Linked DNA regions of Homo sapiens: all the other regions are linked to region 2. The links are contacts of gene promoters, found by promoter capture Hi-C in blood cells and fetal thymus (Javierre and others, 2016). All regions are on one chromosome and are shown on one strand. The core of a region is centred on a gene start or on the middle of the fragment in contact, and the rest is flanking DNA. Distances in the headings are between cores, read along the strand shown.

Evidence for each region. Contacts are between HindIII fragments. The CHiCAGO score rates a contact against its expected background, and 5 or more counts as called.
Region 1: a contact is called between a fragment that was not itself captured here and the fragment with the promoter of ZNF44 in region 2, in 2 of 17 cell types (erythroblasts and M2 macrophages). The highest score is 6.6, in erythroblasts.
Region 3: a fragment that was not itself captured here is called in contact with the fragment with the promoter of ZNF44 in region 2 in 2 of 17 cell types (erythroblasts and naive CD4 T cells); the score reaches 6.3 in erythroblasts.

Annotation. Positions count from the first base shown.
Region 1 is chr19:12,474,393-12,478,816 of GRCh38, reverse strand. All of the region lies in intron 1 of ZNF709 (zinc finger protein 709), which reads left to right. Among named protein-coding and RNA genes, the nearest start is that of ZNF709, 8.2 kb to the left of the region's middle. The HindIII fragment of the contact is 6,195 bases long and covers 1-4,424 here.
Region 2 is chr19:12,293,453-12,297,879 of GRCh38, reverse strand. It overlaps ZNF44 (zinc finger protein 44), which reads left to right and starts at 2,997. Exons shown (of 4, transcript NM_016264.4): 1 at 2,997-3,188. The coding sequence starts at 3,186. RefSeq lists an enhancer at 2,613-2,662 and a silencer at 3,213-3,442. The HindIII fragment of the contact is 16,141 bases long and covers 1-4,427 here.
Region 3 is chr19:12,524,349-12,528,642 of GRCh38, reverse strand. ZNF564 (zinc finger protein 564) reads left to right here. Exons shown (of 4, transcript NM_144976.4): 2 at 1-73; 3 at 279-339; 4 at 727-3,270. The coding sequence ends at 2,197. Among named protein-coding and RNA genes, the nearest start is that of ZNF564, 25 kb to the left of the region's middle. The HindIII fragment of the contact is 772 bases long and covers 2,155-2,926 here.

The sequences.
Region 1 (4,424 bases), core at 301-2,800, 180 kb before region 2:
AGGAAATTCAAACCACAGAAGCTCCTGCCCTTGAGCAGGTACTCTCTTGTAGCCCCACCCCCAAACTACAATAAAAACCCAGGCCAGGAGGCTTTCTTTGCTCTCTGAAGCTATGTCACACCTGCTTGGGCAGCCTGCCCTGCTTTCCCCAAGACCTCAATGATCACAGTAGTGAGTCTTTTCATACCCTTTGGTGTCTGTTCTCCACGCTGTTATTAGTGTCAACATTGGAACGACACAGGAATTGTTACCATGAGCATGGTGTTCAGACATTGACTGTCACCCCATGGGTCTGTCTTCTCTTGCACTGAATTGCTACCTGCTCTGTTGCCTGATGGCCAGCATGCACTTTCAGCTGCTGCTTTCTGGGAAGCTACTACTTTGAGTTGTGCTACTCTGTGCTGCATGTTGAGCCCTGCCAAGTCTGGGTTCTATGTTTAGCCAACTGGAGTTGGCCGTTTTGATAATTCCTTGGCTTTTTTGAAGAGGAATATGAGATTTGATACTCCTTAAAGTGGTCCTGGGTAGTGTTTCTTGGCCTGGACTTATCTGTGTGTTTTAGAGTGAAGCTGTGACTGCTGCTGACCTGGCATACAAGGTGCTCATGGGAAAGACTACCTGCCAGAGCAGTCATTTTTGAAAAAGAGACAAAAGAGAGGGGGAAAGGCAGCTGTTAGATGGTGGGCCGAGTCCACACTCCTAATAGCACAGGGCTCCCAAGGACCCTTAAGTGTTGCTGCTGTTGCTCTATTGCAGCAAGGATGCTGACCCTCAGGATTATAGGGCACACTCATGTTTCCTCTGCAGCATTGCAAAGGGTTCATTCAAAGCCAGCTTAAGGCCCAGGTGCTTAAACTTTATAAAGCAACCATGAGGGACAGGCCCCTAAGCCTGATAATAGTGATTTGTGGCTCTCTGGAGGGAAAAGAACACCCCTCCCCTGTAGAGAGGATTTTGCTGTCAAAATATATCCAGGGACAAAAACAAAAACAAAACAAACATGTTAGGAAGGAAAGGAACAAAAGAAAAAAATGCTGAAAAAGAGGTCCACAATTTGACCCAATTGGAAATTCCAAATAGACTAAAGGAATTTAGACGGCAAAAAAGATAAAAGAGCCTCTATATCATAGGTTCTGTATTAATTTTAACATCTTATGTAATGTATTAATTAACACACTATAGGATTAGCCAATACAAGGGCTCAAATTATGGTTATACCTGGGAGACCCACTAAAATTTAAGCAAGGTATCCCCTGATAATCTTAAGGGAGTTACTGAATATAAAATAGAAGACAAATAAGTATGTCTCATCTTAGCCATCATAACTGTGCCTAAATTCCCCATGTTCATGGCACCCAGTGTCCTAAAATACGCCAGAATGAACAGGTAAACTCTAAACCAGTGAGTCATAAGTGAAATTTAAATTAAATCTTTGGCACTTACAAACTGGCTTGACAGAATGAGACCCTGTGGAACTTACTCCCCAGTTAAATTAGTTATGATGGCTCAATATAAATTGAACAGGGCCTTGAAGGGTTGAAAAGTATTATGTAAAACTTGTTTAGTGAGGAAGTGATTATTCCCCGTGCTTCTCGTTTTAAAAGTACAGTTTGGCCTTTCTTAAACTTGGAGAGAATGAATGGCAACCCACAATGGATTACCATAACCTTAATGCTGTGGTCCCACCCATTAAGCCCCTATACCAATATCCAACATGGAAATTACTGACACCATCCAGCTGATCTCACAGATTTCACCATCTCACAGGCTAATTATATAACTTTACCTAGTTTCCCAAGGGAACCTCAACAGCCTTGCTGTTGCACAGTCTTTGCAGGCAAAATCTGAACTGCATCCACCTTTCTCTAGAACACAGGTATGATATTACATTAATGACAGCCTTGTCTGAGGACATTGTTTTGGCATTCATTCAGGACACATAAATACTGAAAAAAAAAATAGAGCTTACAAAAAGTCCATTGCCCCATATATAAAATAAGAGACCTTTATGTTTTGGTTAAGTTCCTAAAAACCATTTGGTAAAAGGAGGGCCGCTCCATCCCTGACACTACTATGAAATAGCTATTGTCCCTCTGACTACCCACAGCATCTTCTAGGTTCTTTTGATGTTCTGGAGGCAACATATTCCTTGTTTATAAATTTTACTTAACCACTTTATGCTGTTAATTGCAAATTGGCCCACCTTAAGTGGGTCCCCCTACCGCAAAAGGCTCTAGAGTCTTTTTCATTCTCTTAACACAGAGCTTTCATAGAGAAGGAGCTTTTGCATTTTAATGAAGTCAAACTTACTGATTTATTTTGTATGGATTTTGCTTATATCTAAACATTTGTCACCAAACCCAGGGTCACCTAGATTTTCTTCATTAACTTTTAGTATCCTATAACTTTACTTTTTTTTTTTTTTTTGAGGCAAGTTCTCCCTCTTGCCCAGGCCAGAGTGCAGTAGTGCAATCTTGGCTCACTGCAGCCTCAACCTCCTGGGCTCAAGCACTCCTCCCACTTCAGCCTCCTGAGTAGGTGGGACTACAAGCGTGCACCACCACACCTGGCTAATTTTTGTATTTTTTGTAGAGATGGGGTCCTACTTAGTTGCCCAGGCTGGTCTCAAACTCCTGACTTCAAGCTATCCTCCTGCCATGGCCTCCCAGAGTGCTGGGATTACAGGCATGAGCCACTGCTCCTGGCCTAGATTTTACATTTAGTTCTGTGATCCATTTTGAGCCAGTTTTTGTTTAAGGTGTAACGTCTGTTTCTAGATTTGTGTTTTTTTCATTGTGTTTTGCATGTGGATGTTCAGTTTTTCCAACACTGTTTGTTGAAAAAGGCTATCTTTTTTCATTGAATTGCTGTTGGTCATTTGTTGAAAATCAGATGACTCAGTGAGTCTATACTATACTAATGTGAGTCTGTAAGAAGGCAATTGACTTTTGTATATTAAGATTATATCCTCAACCTCTAGTTTGAGGAGTTTGTTGTGGATTCTTTGAGATTTTCTACTTAGACAATCATGTCACATGCGACAAAGACAGTGATATTTCTTTGTTCCCAATCTATATCTCTTCTCTCCTCTCCTCCCCTCTCCTCTCATTAGTTACACTTTGAGTACAATCTGTTGAGTAGGAGTGGTAAGAGGGGACATCTTTGCCCATTTCCTCATCTTACCAGGAAAGCATCTATTTTCTCACTATTAAATATGATATTAGCTGCAGGTTTCCTATAAATACTGCTTCTCAAAAAGAGGAAAGTCTATCTCCAGTTTCTTATCATAAATGCATGTTGGATTTTGCCCATAGCTTTTTCATTTTTATTTTTCCCACTTACATTTGTGATATTAGTAATTTCTGTTCTCTGTTTTTCAGTTAGCTTAACCATACATTTATCAAATATATTGATCTTTTCAAAGAAACACCTTTGGTTTTGTTTAATTTCTCTTTTTACTATTTCTTCTGTTGTGTGCTTACTTTGGGTTTAATTTGCTCATATTTTCTTGCTTTCCTCATGTAGATGCTTAGATTTTTTTTTTTTTTTTTTTTTTTTTAAGACGGAATCTCACTCTGTTGCCCAGGCTGGAGTACAGTGGTGCGATCTTGGCTCACTGCAACCTCCGCATCCTGGGTTCAAGCGATTCTTCTGCCTCAGCCTCCCAAGTAGCTGGGACTACAGGTGCCCACCACCATGCCCGGCTAATTTTTGTATTTTTAGTAGAAACAGGGTTTTGTCACTTTGGACAGGCTGGTGTCCAACTCCCGACCTCAGGTGATCTGCCTGCCTCAGCCTCCCAAAGTGCTGGGATTACAGGTGTTAGCCACTGTGCCTGGCCAGGATTTACATCTTTTTAATATTCAGTGTCCATTTTACAAGTTATGGTAGCTATAGTCACTTTAAATACTTTCATCTTTTAGCTTTTATACTAGAGTTGAAAGTGATGTTTGTACCACCATTATGTATAAGAATATTCTGGATTTGACTATACTTTTGCCTTTACCCATGAGTTTTATACTTTCATATCTTTTTGTGTTGCTAATTAGCTTAACACTTTGAATGTATTGTCCCACTCTCTTGACATCCAAGGTTTCTGCTAAGACATATATTTATAGTCTTACAGGTGTTGGTGAGGATTTAGAGAAAAGGGAACCTTGGTATACTGTTGGTAGAAGTTTAAATTTAAATTGATACAGGCATTATGGATAATAGCATAGATGTTTATCAGAAAATTAGAAAAGGAATTGCTACATGATCCAGCACTCTGCTTCTCCATATTTATCTAAAGGAATTGAAATCAACATCTTGAAGAGATATGTGCACTCCCATGTTCATTGCATCATTGTTCACAACAGCCAAGATATGTAAACAACCTAAATGTGTGTCAACAGATGAATGTGTGATGTTTACATAAAATAAAA
Region 2 (4,427 bases), core at 1,748-4,247:
GCCCATTTTTCCTGTCTGGAAACACTACCATTTTTACAAATTGAATAAAGATTTTATTTCATCGAATGACACCTGATGTTTGACTCCTTTCTTTTTTAGCCATTAGTTCCAGCTTCCAGTTCATGGTGGTTTTAGGTTTTCTACTTTTGCTTCATAGAAATATGGGGAAACCCTCATGTTTTCAAATTCATTCCCTAATGTTTCGGCTTCCGATTGGAGCTTTTAAGTCATTAACATTTAAAGTCTTGAAGGAAAGAGTGTTTCTACACTGTGCAGAGGAGGGCAAGTTGAGCTCCCAGAGTTAAATCCTTCAATGTCTCTCCCTCATCATCAGGTGCTGATCCACTCTGGGGCTCCATTTCAGGAGTCAAGAGTCTGGCTCTCAAGCTCGGGAATCTGTTTAACTTCCTGAAAGGGGGTTTCCTGCTTACTTCCCTGAACGAGATATTTTTTCTTTTCTTCTCTTCTGATTCCTTTAATAGAATACATGCTGTCAGGCCAGGTGTGGTGGCTCATGCCTGGAATCCCAGCACTTTGGAAGGCAGAGGCAAGCAAATAAACCTGAGGTAAGGAGTTCAACACCAGCCAGGCCAACATGGTGAAACACTATCTCTACTAAAAAAACAAAAATTAGCTGGGCATGGTGGTGTGCACCTGTAGTCTCAGCTACTCGGGAGGCTGAGGCAGGAGAATCGCTTGAACCTGGGAGTCGGAGGTTGCAGTGGGCCGAGATCGCGCCACTACACTCAAGCCTGGGCAACAGAGTGAGACTCTATCTCAAAAACAACAACAACAAAAACAAAAACAACAAAATAAAACAAAAAAAAAACAACCATGCTGCCCTATAATTCCAGTTTTTTCACACATTTAACAATTTCATTTCATTGTTGATGTGTTTTTATTTTCTGGGATGAAAATGAATAGATCGCAAAAAAATTATATCAGTGAGAAAATTATGGCAGTGGAAGAGATCTGAGCCAACACCCGTTCTGCCCCGCCCCGCCCCCCGCCCCTGCCAACCCTCTGTCTTCTCTTTCCCTTAATCCTGGGCTCTTAGGCACAGCTAACTTTGGAAGATAGCTTAAATGATAATAAGCCTTCCCCAAAACTCAACTGCCTTTGTAAAACGAATGAATGGCCATCAGGCTGAGGGATGAAAGGAATCGGAATGCTGCTAAAGTGTAGACATAGATTGCCAGCTATTTCTGCAGATAACACCACTATTGTAGATTAGCATTTGTAGACGTATTTTCAGTTTTTGTTTGTTTGTTTGTTTTTTTTTTGCATGTCTGACACCACCTGCACCTGCCAACTCTGCTCCTGTGGCCCCAACCAGAAGTGATTCAGCATAACAGGATAGGTTTTTTTTTTTTTTGTCTTTTTTTTGTTTTTTTTTGAGACGGAGTTTCGCTCTTGTTGCCCAGGCTGGAGTGCAAAGGCACGATCTCGGCTTGGCGCGATCTCAGCTCACCGCAACCTCCACCTCCCGGGTTCAAGTGATTCTCCCGCCTTAGCCTCCCAGGTAGCTGGGATTACAGACATGTGCCACCACGCCCAGCTAATTTTGTATTTTTAGTAGAGACGAGCTTTCTCCATGTTGGTCAGGCTGGTCTCAAACTCCCGACCTCAGGTGATCCGCCCGCCTGGGCCTCCCAAAGTTCTGGGATTACAGGTGTGAGCCACCGGGCCCGGCCTCTTTTTTTCTTTTTTAAATATGTAGCAGTACAAGCCGCAGACAAGAACCCCTCAGACACCGAGTTGTGGAAGGAAAGGGCTTTATTCAGCTGGGCTGGGAGCATCGGCGGACTCACGTCTCCAAAAACCGAGCTCCCCGAGTGAGCAATTCTTGTCCCTTTTAAGGGCTTACAACTAGGAGTCCGCGTGAGAGGGTCGTGATTGATGGAGCAAACAGTGGGTACGTGACTGGGGGCTGCATGCACCGGTAACCAGAACTGAACAGAACAGGACAGGGATTTTCACAGTGCTTTTCCATACAATGTCTGGAATCATAGATAACACAGTTAGGTCAGAGGTTGATTTTTAACTACCCAGCCCAGGGCACAAGCCGGGTTATCTGCCTGTGGATTTCATTTCTGCCTTTTAGTTTTTACTTCTTCTTTGGAGGCAGAAATTGGGCATAAGACAATATGAGGGGTGGTCTCCTCCCTTATAGTATAGAGACGGAGTTTCACTCTATGTCCAGGCTGGTCTTGAACTACTGGCCTCAAGCGATCCTCCCACCTAGGCCTCCCAAAGTATTGGGATTACAGCGGTGAGCCACCACGCACTGCCAAGAGGACAGATTCCATCCCCAGTGATTTCATCCCCACCCCAACCAGTCAGTAGCAAGCCTAGCTACCTCCACCCTTTCTCCCAAACTGCCCTTGAAAAACCCCTACCAGAGGACCTTGGATGAGAATAATTTGAGTAGTAACTCCGTCTCTCACGTATCGTAGCTGGCCTAGTGTTTATTAAACTTTTTTTTTAACTGCAATACCGTGGTCTTTATTTGCGTAGCGCGCAGAAAGAACCCATCCAGCGCTTATAGTGGAAGAAAGGCTTGACCTTGCAGGCGACAGCCTCATCCCAAATTCCTGGTCCCTGGAGGACATCAGCACCACCCCCCCACCCACCCACCCCCTGTCCCCCGCTGCTACAGTGTGGCCTGTGTGGCCTCGGCTGCCCTCCTGCTCTGAGGCCAAGGGATGGCTCCACTGGACAGTGAGTCTGGGATTCCTTGCACACAATTGTTCAGGAGGAAGAAGCAAAAAGGGCCCACTGCGTACAGGTAGGAAATTCCGCTTTAAGGCAAACGTTTCCCGGGACGGGTCGGGTCACAACGCAGGGAGGAAGCCCGCCCTGCCAGGGGCCGGGTCTGGAACCTGTTCATCCGGCTGCACTCAGCACTGTGAGATCGCTTCTTCTGTCACTCAGTGCCCAGGAGGCGGGACCTGGAGGGCTACCCAATCAAAGTCGTGGGCGGGTTCCTGAGAATTGTCAATCAGGCGCGAGGCAGAGAGGAGGGTGTGACGTTCCAGGAGCTAGTGGCCTCTTCACCCTGGTGACCTCTGTTCCGTATTCTGTCACTGAGAGACGCCCTGGGACATCTGTGGTGGCTTTTGTCGCGCTGGGACCTACCCTGACTACGGGAGTTGGGAGGACCCGGGACACCGCACAGCCGGGAAATGGTGAGTGTGCGGGGCCCGGCGTCCTGAGGCAGGGCGAAGGGCTGGTCGGAACCAGTCGGAACCGGCTGTGGCGGGACCCGGGCCTCGCCGCAGCGTCTTTGGGGTCTGGGACCTGAGCGCCCCCTGCGCACCTCGGTCCTCGGTCCGTTTGGCCGCAGGGTGGGGCTGGGCCGGCAGCCGGGACCCCGGGCGTCCTGTCCCGTCCCTGAGCTGCGACTGCGGCCCCGGCCCCGGCGCCCCTCTCTGGGCAGCTCCGCGCCCTCAGCCCCGCTTCTCCCCAGATTGTGCGGCGGAACCAGTACAGGTTCGCAGCCCAAGTCACTGCACCCGGACGCCGAGGGCTGCAGCAGAAACGGTTTAATAGGAGAGGACACCCTAGATCCGCCTCCGTGAGAGGTTTGAGGATGGGGTGTTTAGGGGTCTGGACGGGGGTGGTTGGGATGTGGGGTCGCTGGTTGGTGGAGAAGTGAGGGGTGAATCTTGGGACTGGAGGTGAAGAAACCGCATTCTGCTGCTGAGTGGGCTTCCTTGTGGGGTCTTCAGCCTGCTTGGCGCCAGCCTTTCCGCTGGAATTCAAGATCTGAGAAAGAACTTAGACGACTCTTGAGCAACTCTCAGAGATCTTATCCCCAGGCCAATGGGGAAGCCGGCGGTCAGCGTCTGCTGTGACCTGACTCTCAGGGAGGCGGCTTCCTGTGAAGCAGCGGGGCTGAGGGCACCTGGTTAATATCTAACTGCAATCTCGCCTCCAGCCTGGCTCGCAGTTCCTGTGAGCCCGGTGAGGAGGCTGCACGGTGACGGTGGGAGGGTCACTAGGCACAAACCAGACTCGTGTGTGGGGTTTGTGTGTGGGAGGAGCTGTGGTCTCTGTGCTCTTCAGTCCTTTCTTTCCAAGGGCGACCATTTCTCCTCCGAGGCTTTCAAAGATATTGGCATCAGGGTCTTTGAGACCTGTCCCTTCATCCTAACTCCTCTTGGGGCTAACAGTAAATCTTTTGGTTTCCAGAGCCTTCCATATGCTAACTTCACTCCTCAATTCCCAGTAACGTTATGAACCCTTTGTCAGCAAGACGATATTTCAAATAGACACAGAATTTTGTCGTTTGTTTTCAGATAGCAATGTATGGCTCTTTTTAAACAGATTTATTTTGTTTTCCTTAACATTTCACATGTGAGGAAGAAGAGAATAACCACCTGACACTGCTGTAAAAAAAACCAAACCTTTGTGCCTCTTTTATC
Region 3 (4,294 bases), core at 1,291-3,790, 230 kb before region 2:
TTGCTGGATCCTTCCCAGAAGAAACTCTACAGAGATGTGATGCGGGAAACCTTTAGAAACCTGGCCTGTGTAGGTAAGGATGACATCATTCCTTCTTTTAGTCAGTTAGAGAAGAAGTATTTCTTGCTTTTTAATGCTTTTTCATGATGTCTAATGTGGAAAAGGGAATACTTGGGTGAATAAATCAGGGTTGTTTGCACCTTATCATGAACTTAGAATCTAGTCATTTTTCTGTAATGTCTATCAGTTCATAAGGATTTTTTCTGACTATATTTTAGGAAAAAAATGGGAAGACCAGAGCATTGAAGATTGGTACAAAAATCAGGGGAGAATTTTAAGGTAATTTGCACTGACAAGATAAAGCAATGTCTCCTTCTTAGTATGTCATGAAATTTTAAAAATAAGTAAACAAACCAGTAAGCCCAGCTTCAGATTTATTTATTCCTACAACTTTTTCACCAGAAAAAGAAAAAGTGGCATAGATGTTCAGTGTTGCAAAATCATTCACTTGGAAATAGTATTAAGAAACTGTATATATGGATATCACTTTTTTGGTGATAGCTACTGTCAAGCTCTCTTGCAGAGCATTCCATCCATTCACTTTCAAACAATTCATACAGGCCTGAAAACTTACCCTTTCCGCGATTATGGTAAAAATGTAAGTCGAATACCTATTAATAAATATAAAGTCACAAACCACTAAATCTTGCTTTCTATTTTTTCCAGAAATCATATGGAAGAGGGACTCAGTGAAAGTAAAGAATATGATCAATGTGGAGAAGCCTTCAGTCAGATTCTCAATCTTAATCTGAACAAGAAAATTCCTACTATAGTAAGACCATGTGAATGTAGTTTGTGTGGGAAAGTCTTCATGCATCATTCATCCCTTAGTAGGCACATCAGATCTCACCTTGGACACAAACCATATGACTATCAGGAATATGGAGAGAAACCATATAAATGTAAGCAGTGTGGGAAAGCCTTCAGTTCTTGTCAATCCTTTCGAAGACATGAAAGAACTCACACTGGTGAGAAACCCTATGCATGTCCGGAATGTGGGAAAGCCTTCATTTCTCTCCCAAGTGTTCGAAGACACATGATTAAGCACACTGGAGATGGACCATATAAATGTCAGGAATGTGGGAAAGCCTTTGATCGCCCAAGTTTATTTCAGATACATGAAAGAACTCACACTGGAGAGAAACCCTATGAATGTCAGGAATGTGCAAAAGCTTTCATTTCTCTTCCAAGTTTTCAAAGACACATGATTAGGCACACTGGAGATGGACCTTATAAATGTCAGGAATGTGGAAAAGCCTTTGACCGCCCCAGTTTATTTCGAATACATGAAAGAACTCATACTGGAGAGAAACCCCATGAATGTAAACAGTGTGGGAAGGCCTTCATTTCTTTCACAAATTTTCAAAGTCATATGATTAGGCACACTGGGGATGGACCTTATAAATGTAAAGTATGTGGGAGAGCCTTTATTTTTCCCAGTTATGTTCGAAAGCATGAAAGAACTCATACTGGGGAGAAACCCTATGAATGTAATAAATGTGGTAAAACCTTCAGTTCTTCCAGTAATGTTCGAACACATGAAAGGACTCACACTGGAGAGAAGCCCTATGAATGTAAGGAATGCGGGAAAGCCTTCATTTCTCTCCCAAGTGTCCGAAGACACATGATAAAGCACACTGGAGATGGACCTTATAAATGTCAGGTATGTGGTAGAGCCTTTGACTGTCCCAGTTCATTTCAAATACACGAAAGAACTCACACTGGAGAGAAACCCTATGAATGTCAGGTATGTGGGAAAGCCTTCATTTCTCTTAAAAGGATTAGAAAACATATGATACTGCACACTGGAGATGGACCTTATAAATGTCAGGTATGTGGTAAAGCCTTTGACTGTCCTAGTTCTGTCCGAACACATGAAAGAACTCATACTGGAGAAAAACCCTATGAATGTAAAGAATGTGGGAAAGCATTCAATTATGCCAGTTCCATTAGAATACATGAAAGAACTCATACCGGAGAAAAACCCTATGAATGTAAGCAATGTGGAAAAACGTTCAGTTATTCCAGTTCCTTTCAAAGACATGAAAGAGCTCATAATGGAGATAAACCTTACGTAAAGAATGTGGGAAAGCTTTCATTTATCACACAACCTTCGAATACCTGTGAAAATGAATAGTGGAGGACAGGTCTACAAGTATCTACATATCTAAAGAATATGGAAAGTCTTCAGTTTGCTTTCTGGGTTTCAGACTTGTTTGGGAGCTCACCCCTTTCTCCTGTTTCTCACTTTTGGAATAGGAATCTCTATCCTGTGCCTGTCTCATATTTTGGAAATACATGACTAGTTTGGTTTTCACCGGTTCGGAGCTGAAGAAGAATTTTGCCTCAGCATGAATTGAGTCTCATCCATATCTGAGTGATGTGATATTGAGATGACACTTTGGAGTTTGAGTTTAAACATTAGGCTTCATGCTGGAATTAACTGAGACTTTTGAGGCCTTTGGGATGAGATGAATATATTTTACATGTGATGACATGGATTTTGGGGGCCAGAGGTGTAATGTTTTGGCTGAGTGTATGCCACCTCAGATTCATATGTTGAAACCTTACCCCCGTGCCCCCCCTCTCCCCCACAATGTGATGGTATTTGGAGGCCCTGTCTCTGGTGGTTTTTAGGATTGGAGGACATCATGAAGATGGAGGCCTTGTAATTGGGATTAGTTTCCTGATAGGAATCCCTAGAGAGCTAGCTTTGCCCTTCACCATGAGAGGGTGCAGTGAGAAGATAGCTATCTTTGAACCGGGAAGCAGGCCCTTACCAGACATGGACTATGCCAGTGCCTTGATATTGGACTTCCCAGCCTCCCAAACCATGAGAAATAAATGTTTGTTGATTAATTAAGCTTTCCAATTTATGGTATTTTGTTTTAGCAACCCAAGCTAAGACACAATCCAATTTTAAAATGGAGGAAAGGACTTGAATAGACATTTCTCCAAAGAAGATACCCAGATGGCCAATAAGCACGTAACAATGCTCGACATCTTTAGTCATTAGGGAAATACAAATCAAACTCAAGACATACATAGCATCTCATTAGGATTAGTAGTATCAAAGATGGAAAACAAGAAATACTGTCAAGGATGTGGAATGTTGGAGAACATTGTGCACTATCACTGGGAATGTACAGTGGTATAAGCCTGCTGAAAACAGTATGGCAGATCCCCAGATTAAAATATAGAAATAACATATGATCAGCATTTCCATTTCTGGGAAAATAAAAAGATTGAAAGCAGGGCCGGGCGTGGTGGATCACGCTTGTAATCCCAGCACTTTGGGAGGCCGAAGCAGGCGGATCACAAGGTCAGGAGATTGAGACCATCCTGGCTAACATGATGAAACCCCGTCTCTACTAAAAAAAAATTAGCCGGGCGTGGTGGCAGGCGCCTGTAGTCCCAACTGCTCGGGAGGCTGAGGCAGGAGAATGGCATGAACCCGGGAGGCAGAGCTTGCAGTGAGCTGAGGTCGCGCCACTGCACTCCAGCCTGGGTGAGAGAGCAAGACTCCGTCTCAAAAAACAAAACAAAACAAAAAAGATTGAAAGCAAAGTCTCAAATAGGTTTTGTACACCTGTGTACATAGCATCATTCACAATAGGTAAACTCTGGAAACTACTCAGGTTTTCATCAACAGATGAATAAACAAAAGGAAGTTTATACATACAAGAGAATATTACTGAGTCTTACAAAGTAAGGAAATTTACAAATATGCTGCAAGATGAACCTTGACGTGCTAAGTGAAATGGGCCATTCATGTAAAGACAATACGGTATGATTCTACTTATATCAGGTATCTAGAGTAGTCATATTGATAGAAAAAGTACAATACCATTTGCCAAAGGTTAGGGAAATTGGGTAATGGATAGTTATTTCATGGGCATAGAGTTTCAATTTTGCAAGATAAAAAGGGTTCCAGAGGTGGATGGTGGTGATGGTTGCACACTAGTATGAATGTTCTTAATGGCACTGAACTGTACACTTAAAATTGATTATGATGGTGAATTTTATGTATGTTTTACACACAAAAAAGGGAGAAAAGACCACAGTACTGCATAGACCTTGTGGGACCTTCAGCATACCAAGACACTCTAGGTCTCTCTTTTTTTTTTTTGAGATAGGGTCTTGCTCTGTCGCCCAAGCTGGAGTGCAGTGGTGAGATCTTGGCTCACTGCACCCTCTGCCTCCCAGATTCAAAGGCTTCTCATGCTTCAGCCTC